Linked DNA regions of Homo sapiens: all the other regions are linked to region 3. The links are contacts of gene promoters, found by promoter capture Hi-C in human tissues and cell types (Jung and others, 2019). All regions are on one chromosome and are shown on one strand. Each heading gives the region's core, a stretch centred on a gene start or on the middle of the fragment in contact. The rest is flanking DNA. Distances are from core to core; before and after follow the strand shown.

Evidence for each region. Contacts are between HindIII fragments. The study calls those that stand out against the background at their distance.
Region 1: a contact is called between a fragment that was not itself captured here and the fragment with the promoter of PATZ1 in region 3, in 1 of the 25 tissues and cell types used here (lymphoblastoid cells).
Region 2: a fragment that was not itself captured here is called in contact with the fragment with the promoter of PATZ1 in region 3 in 1 of the 25 tissues and cell types used here (thymus).

What each region holds. Positions count from the first base shown.
Region 1 is chr22:31,652,264-31,654,963 of GRCh38, reverse strand. The region is part of intron 1 of PISD (phosphatidylserine decarboxylase); the gene reads left to right. Among named protein-coding and RNA genes, the nearest start is that of PISD, 8.6 kb to the left of the region's middle. The HindIII fragment of the contact is 4,585 bases long and covers 1-2,700 here.
Region 2 is chr22:31,669,349-31,672,048 of GRCh38, reverse strand. No RefSeq gene overlaps it. Among named protein-coding and RNA genes, the nearest start is that of PISD, 8.5 kb to the right of the region's middle. The HindIII fragment of the contact is 7,943 bases long and covers 1-2,700 here.
Region 3 is chr22:31,344,942-31,347,641 of GRCh38, reverse strand. PATZ1 (POZ/BTB and AT hook containing zinc finger 1) reads left to right here and starts at 1,296. Exons shown (of 5, transcript NM_014323.3): 1 at 1,296-2,700. The coding sequence starts at 2,040. LINC01521 (long intergenic non-protein coding RNA 1521) reads right to left here and starts at 883. Exons shown (of 1, transcript NR_120386.1): 1 at 1-883. RefSeq lists silencers at 791-1,010, 1,061-1,130, 1,501-1,920, 2,471-2,540. The HindIII fragment of the contact is 10,371 bases long and covers 1-2,700 here.

The DNA.
Region 1 (2,700 bases), core at 96-2,595, 310 kb before region 3:
GCTGGGATTACAGGGGCACACCACCACGCCCATCTAATTTTTTGGATTTTAGTAGCTACTGGGTTTTACCGTGTTGCCCAGGCTGGTCTCAAACTCCTGAGCTCAGGCAATTCCTCCACCTTGGCCTCCCAAAGTATTAGGATTACAGGTGTGAGCCACCACGCCTGGCCTTCCTGCCATCTTTAATACTTCCCACAGTCGGCATGTTTGTCTGCATCAAGCTGGCTGGTGGGGGTAAGCTTGGAGGTGAATGCCTGGGAAGCCCGAATGATCCTCAGATTTCATTGGTTCACACTTAGTCTCATGGCCACACCTTGCTGCACAGGAGGCTGGGAAATTTAGTCTAACAGGTGTCCAGAAGAGGAAGTGCATTTGGTAAACATCTGGCTAGTCTCTCCTATGGATAGAGAACTCGGGCAGGAGCAGATTGAAGGTGAGTTAGAGAGGGTCGGGAATCCTGTCTTCTACAGACTCAGTTTGAGAGGACTCAAAATGGGGCCATTGGGTAGCTGGCCCCTGGAGGAGCAATGAAGGAGTCATCAGTGGATGGTTCTTTAAAGCCATGGGACTGGATAAGCATCTCTGGGGAGAGTTTATAGGTAGAGAAGAGATCTGAACCCTGGGCATGGCAAGAATCCACAGTTAGGAAGCAAAGGAGAATTCACAAATAGAGACTGAGAAGAAACCAGAGAAATAGGAAAAAAATCACGGTCCCAAAAGCCCAGTGAAGAGTGTTTCAAGGAGAGAAGGATCAACTGTGTCATGCTGCTGAGACGTCAAGTAAGATGAGACCTCAGATATGTGTGTGCATTGGTGTTGGCAACATGCAGGTTGTTGGTGACCTTGATGAGGTGGTGTGATAGGAACAAAACCTTACTGAGTGGGACTAAGAGAGGCTGAGAGGTGAGGAAGTGGTAACAGTGAGTGGAGAGCTCTTTTTAGGCTTGGAATGAAGGAGAGCAGAAAAGTAGGGAGGACCAAAGAATGATAGCATGGTAGACAGTGTTTGTGTAAGACTGAAGAAATGACAGCATTCATATGAAAATCGGGACGATCCCGTAATAAGATTCTCCTGCCTCAGCCTCCTGAGTAGCTGGTACTACAGCGTGTGTGCCACCACACCTGGCTAATTTTTGTATTTTTAGTGGAAATGGGGTTTCACCATGTTGGCCAGGCTGGTCTCGAACTCCTGACCTCAAGTGATCCACCCGCCTTGGCCTCCCAAAGTGCTGGAATTACAGTCATGAGCCACCATGCTCAGCTAGGTGTTTATAAGTCAAGGAAGTTTTATGTGAAAAAAGGGAAGTACCTAAATCTGATGTACCAAACTGATATAATGAAGCATTTCCCAGTATTTGTTCCAGCAGCTGGGACTACAGCGGTGGACAAAAAGCTGAGCTGTTTGTTCTTGGGCAGGGTTCCTGAGGGGGAAGATGGATATGCAAAACAAACCACCTGAGTGCCCTGTGTCCAGTTACGGTGGATACATAAATGATCATCTCCCATTCCTATTTCCTCCTGTCAGACAAAGCCTTGTTAATCATTGTGCAAACATTCTTTCAGTTAGGGGTTTTTCAGTATTCTGGAAAACACAATGCGGCAATGTACAGAACACAACAATTTATCCTTCAGTCCGTTTTTGCACTTCTCGTTAAAATTCTGTTTAGAAAGCAGGGTTTTAGGCTTTTTGCTGTGGCAGTGGGAGTATCCAGTCTAAGAAATGAACATTGTTCAGAACTGAAAGAACTTTCATATACTGAAATATACCCTTCATTGTGTTAATAGCTGTCTGGCCTTGGGGGTGGTGCTCGTCATGGTAAGATGCTTTTTCTCCTTGTTTGCCTATAGGAGAATCAGATTCATCATGTTAGCTACAATAGTGCTATGCTGCAAGGTGGGTGTGGTTTTTTTTTTTTTTTTTTTTTAAGGTAGGGTCCTACTCTGTCACCCAGCCTGGAGTACAGTAGCGTGTTTTCGGCTCACTGTAACCTCTGCCTCCTGGGTTCAGGCGATCCTCCCACTTCAACTTTTTGGTTAGGTAGGACTACAGGCACATGCCACCATGCCCGGCTAATTTTTGTATTTTTTGTACAGATGGGGTTTCACCATGTTGCCCAGGCTGGTCTTGAACTCCTGGGCTCAAGCAATCCTCCCACCTCAGCCTCCCACAGTGCCAGGATTATAGTTGTGAACCACAATGCCCAGCCTGGCAAGGGGGGTGTTTGTTTTGTTTTGTTTTGTGATTCTCCTGCCTCAGCCTCCCGAGTAGCTGGTACTACAGCATGTGTGCCACCGCGCCCGGCTAATTTTTGTATTTTTAGTAGAGACGGGGTTGCACCATGTTGGCCAGGCTGGTCTCGAACTCCTGACCTCAAGTGATCCACCCACCTCGGCCTCCCAAAGTGCTGGGATTCCAGGCGTGAGCCATCATGTGCTCAGCCAGGTGTTTGTAAGGCAAGGAAATTTTATGTGAAAAAAGGAAAGTACCTAAATCTGATAACATTTGTAGGATATCTATACAAGACATAACTTGGGCCAAGTGCTGTGGCTCACATCTGTAATCCCAGCACTTTGGCGGGCCGAGGCAGGTGGATCACTTGAGGTCAGGAGTTTGAGGCCAGCCTGGCCAACGTGGTGAAACTCTGTCTCTACTAAAAATACGAAATTAGTCAGGTGCAGTGGCATGCGCCTGTAATTCCA
Region 2 (2,700 bases), core at 21-2,520, 320 kb before region 3:
CAACATGGCAAAACCCTGTCTCTACAAAAAATACAAACGAAGTAGCCAGGTGTGGTGGTCCATGCCTGTAGTCCCAGCTACTTGTGAGACTGAGGCGGGAGGATTTCTGGAGCCCAGGAGGCCCAGGCTGCAAAGAGCTGTGAGTGTGCCAGCTGCACTCCAGCCTGGGGACAGAGCAAGACCCTGTCTCAAAACAACAACAGCAATGAAAACAAGTTATCTGTCTCTGGCAGCGTCAAACACACAGAAATTAAAATCTGGCAGGATTTCTTGGAATTTCTTTCAGAGACTTCATGCTGCACATCATTCAGATGATTAAAGTTCCAGGTCACTTTCTTTTTTTTTTTTTTTCTTTTGAGATGGAGTCTTGCTCTGTTGCCAGGCTAGATTGCAGTGGTGCCATCTTGGCTCACTGCATCCTCTACCTCCCTGGTTCAAGTGACTCTCCCACCTCAGCCTCCCGAGTAGCTGGGACTACAGGCATGAGCCACCACAGCTGACTAATTTTTGTATTTTTAGTAGGGATGGGGTTTTGCCATGTTGGCCAGGCTGGTCTCAAACTCCTGACCTCAGGTGAACCACCCACCTCGGCCTCCCAAAGTGCTGGGATTACAGGCGTGAGCCACTGCACCCGCCCTGCCAAGATCACTTTCTTGCAACATATTGTTACAAAACTTTTGTGAGCTGAATGGGGTTATATGACTTTAGCATTCCACAACCTCTCTTCCATAGCTCTGTATTCAGATACCAGCCACAGAATTCCGTTGTTCCACTTCAATACTCACATTATCCCAGTATTTTTTGGAAGGCCCAGGAGTCATGAAAATTCAGCCTGGAAAACTTTGGACACCTTGGGTGAAATGCAGCAGCCTGGAAGTCAGATTGCAGTATCCAGTCCAGCCATTTCACTTGCTGACCCTGTGACCTTCACAGAGTCACGTGACCTCTCCTTATCTTTAAAATGAAAAACTTGAGGCCGGGCGTGGTGACTCAGTCTCTACTAAAAATATAAAAATTACCCAGGTGTGGTGGCGTGTGCCTGTAATCCCAGCAGTTCAGGAGGCTGAGACACAAGAATCACTTGAGCCTAAGAGGTGGAGGTTGCAGTGAGCTGAGGTCACACCATCACACTCCAGCCTGGGCAACAAAGTGAGACTCCATCTAAAAAACAAAAACAAAAAGAAATAATACAGAGATCCTGGTGTACCCTTTACCCAATTTTCCCCCAATGGTAACATCTTGCAAAACTATACAATATCATAATCACAGTATTGACATCCATATAGTCAAGATACAGTACATTTCTATTACCAGGACCTACAAGGATGCCTTAGTCCTTTTATAGCTGCACACATTTCCCTCCCACTCCCACCCTCTCTTTAATCTCTGGCAACCACTAATCTGTTCTCCATTTCTCAATTTTGCTTGCCATGTAACATAACACATTCACAGGTTCTGAGGATTAGAATGTGGACATCACTGGCCGGGCACGGTGGCTCACGCTTGTAATCCCAGCACTTTGGGAGGCCAAGGCGGGTGGATCACGAGGTCAGGAGATCAAGACCATCCTGGCTAACACGGTGAAACCCCGTCTCTACTAAAAATACAAAAAATTAGCCAAGCACGGTGGTGGACGCATGTAGTCCCAGCTACTCTGGAGGCTGAGGCAGGAGAATGGTGTGAACCCAGGAGGCGGAGCTTGCAGTGAGCTGAGATCGTGCCACTGCACTCCAGCCTGGGTGACAGAGCAAGACTCTGTTAAAAAAAAAAAAAAAAGAATGTGGACATCACTGAGGATGGGGGTGTAGTGGTATTATTTAGCCTATCACAAAGTCGCATTGCAAACATCCCTTCCTCCAGGAGCCTTCTATACAAATCACTGCCACCAACCCAAATTAATTAAGCCATGCTACTTTTTTTTGAGATGGAATCTCACTCTGTCACCAGGCTGGAGTGCAGTGGTGCAATCTTGGCTCACTGCAGCCTCTGCCTCCTGGGTTCAAGCGATTCTCCTGCCTCAGCCTCCCAAGTAGCTGGGACTACAGGCGTGCGCCACCATGCCCAGCTAATTTTTGTATTTTTAATAGAGACGGGTTTTCACCATGTTGGCCAGGATGGTCTCGATCTCTTGAGCTTGTGATCCACCCGCCTCAGCCTCCCAAAGTGTTGGGATTACAGGCGTGAGCCACTGCACCTGGCCAAGTCACAGTACTTTTAAGTGTACTTTCTAATACCTACCATTAACCATAAACCAAATGTAAAGTTAATTATGTGACAGTTTCAATGTACAATTTTGAGAATTAGGGTTTTTTTTTTTTTTTTTTTTGAGACAGAGTTTCGCTCTTGTTGCCCAGGCTGGAGTGCAATGGCACGATCTCAGCTCACTGCAACCTCCACCTTCTGGGTTCAAGTGATTCTCCTGCCTCAGCCTCCCAAGTAGCTGGGATTATAGGTGTGCGCCACCACGCCTGGCTAATTTTTGTATTTTTAGTAGAGATGGGGTTTCACCATGTTGGTCAGGCTGGTCTCGAGCTCCTGACCTCGTGATCCGCCTGCCTTGGCCTCCCAAAGTGTTGGGATTACAGGCGTGAGCCATCACGCCCGGCTGTTGTTTTGTTTTGTTTTGTTTGTTTGAAACAGGGTCTTACTTCTTCACCTAAGCTGAAGTGCAGTAGCACCATCTTGTCTCACTGCAACCTC
Region 3 (2,700 bases), core at 47-2,546:
GGGCCCGTTCATTTGCATGCTAATACCCAGAATGCTTTTCCCCCGCACACCGCTTCTCTTAATGGAAGCGCTCAGTTTGGAACCGTGGAAAGTTTGGAACACATACTTCGCTGCCTCTTTGCAACTGTGGGAACTTCCCGCCCGCACACGCGGCGCCTGCAGCCTGGGGCTCCGCGCCAGGCGGCCCAAAGGCAGCCGCCAGCGCTTCCTGGGAAGACAAACCTTGGTGTACAACTCTAGCGTGGTAGCATCCCCGGGCGGGCCGGGGACAAAGCGCCGAGGCCTGGCGGCAGGGCCCATTACCAGAGCACCCGGCGTCTCACAGGGCTGCGGGCGCTGGGGATGCTCCGGGCTTGGAGAGGCCTGAGGGTGTCCCCGACTCCTCCGGCACCCCCACTTCCCTGAGGATTGCTGGGGCTTCCGGGGGTCCCTGCCCCGTCCATCGCCCTCATATTGTCGCCTCCCGGAGCTGGTGACTTCACGCTCCCCGGGGACAAAGCTCGGCGTGCTGTGGTTTGGGGGAGAAGCTGGACGCTGGCTTCATCTCTCCAGCTCTTCCGGGCGCGCAGCCCATCAGATCGATCAATGTACCGGGTGCAGAAGCAGCTCCGGAGGTTCGGCCTGTCTCCGGCCAGGACCCCGGGCCCTCTCTGGTGTTTGAAGCAGGGAGGCGGTCGCAGGCGACTTCTGGGAATTTCACGCATGAAAGCGGGGCTCCGAAGGGTGGACGACGCCCGCTCGACCTGCGAGTGCGCTTCGCAGGCTGGGGGGCCCGGATCCGCACCCCTCAGTTCCTGCCCCCCCACCCTGCTAGCCGCCACTCTCAGCGGGCAGGGGAGGGGCAGTGGGAGCTGGTTTGCTGGCTCGGCGCTTCGTTTGCATTGGTCCGGGGGGGCTGAGACTGCAGCCCCCGGCCCCGCGGGCGGGGTGGGGAGGCGGGGGCCGGACGGGGGCTCAGGCTGCTCTAGCATTGGCGGATCTGGGGAATGGGGAGGGGGGGCAGGAAGCGGGGGGAGCGGACTGCGGGGGGGGGGTGTATAAATAGGGAAGGGGGGACGTGCATCCTCGTCTTGGTGAGGGGGGGGCGCTCGGCACAAAGAAAGTGTAAAGTTTGCAGCGCCAGGCGGCCCGGGCTAGGCATCCGGGCGCGCACGTGCAAGGCCGGGGACGCCGGGGCCCCCACTCTGAGCTCGCCGTTTCTTTTTTTTCTGCAAGCGAGAGGGGGGGTGTTGTTGGTATCGCCCCCTCCTTCTCCTCCCCCCAGGGGTGAAAGTGCAAGAGGAAGTGCAGCCGCTGCCATCTTTCCTCCGCTCCGAACACACGGAGCCCGGGGCCGCACAGCCGCCGCTCCGCCGCCGCCTTCTCCCGGCCTGAGGAAGGGCCTACTCTGCCGCCGCCGCCGCCCGCCCGCTCCAGCCGCCGCCGCCGCCGCCACCGCCCTCCAGGCTCCGGGACCCGGCCCGCGCCACCGCCCCCGTGCGCGCCCCGCCGCCGCCGCCTTCGCCTTCGCCTTTTGTTTCCTCCGCTCCGGCGCCCCCGCCCCGGCTCGCGCTTTGCAGGGGACGCAGCGCGCGCCCCCAGCGGGCCCGGGAAAAGCCGCGGCGCGCGCGCGCGCCTGCGCGGCGGACCCCTCCTTCTCCTCCCCGCGTGCGCGTGCCCTTCTTGGCTGCGCGCCGGCGCCGCCTGGCGGGCGGGAGGGGAGGTGGCAGGCGCGTTTGCAGGAGGGGCGCACCTCTTCGCTCGCGCACCCCCCCGGAAGGTAGACCGGGAAGGGGAGGCGGGCGGGCGGAGAGGAGAGAGTGGCGCGCAGTCCAGCGAGGGCGGGGGTTGGCTATGTGGGGGGTGGTGCACCCCGCAGTCTAGACAGTCTGATCCGGGCTGGGGGCGTGTACACTCGGCGCACCTGCGAGACTACAGAGCCTCGGGCCGGCACGTGTGGGGAGTGTGGACACGTCTGCTGCGCCCCGCTTCTCGCTGCTGAGGGGAAGGGAGGGGGCGGGCAGGTGCAGCGGCCGGGCTAGTGGGAGGGGGCGGCGGCCATGGAGCGGGTGAACGACGCTTCGTGCGGCCCGTCTGGCTGCTACACATACCAGGTGAGCAGACACAGCACGGAGATGCTGCACAACCTGAACCAGCAGCGCAAAAACGGCGGGCGCTTCTGCGACGTGCTCTTGCGGGTAGGCGACGAGAGCTTCCCAGCGCACCGCGCCGTGCTGGCCGCCTGCAGCGAGTACTTTGAGTCGGTGTTCAGCGCCCAGTTGGGCGACGGCGGAGCTGCGGACGGGGGTCCGGCTGATGTAGGGGGCGCGACGGCAGCACCAGGCGGCGGGGCCGGGGGCAGCCGGGAGCTGGAGATGCACACTATCAGCTCCAAGGTATTTGGGGACATTCTGGACTTCGCCTACACTTCCCGCATCGTGGTGCGCTTGGAGAGCTTTCCCGAACTCATGACGGCCGCCAAGTTCCTGCTGATGAGGTCGGTTATCGAGATCTGCCAGGAAGTCATCAAACAGTCCAACGTACAGATCCTGGTACCCCCTGCCCGCGCCGATATAATGCTCTTTCGCCCCCCTGGGACCTCGGACTTGGGCTTCCCTTTGGACATGACCAACGGGGCAGCCTTGGCAGCCAACAGCAATGGCATCGCCGGCAGCATGCAGCCAGAGGAGGAGGCAGCTCGGGCGGCTGGTGCAGCCATTG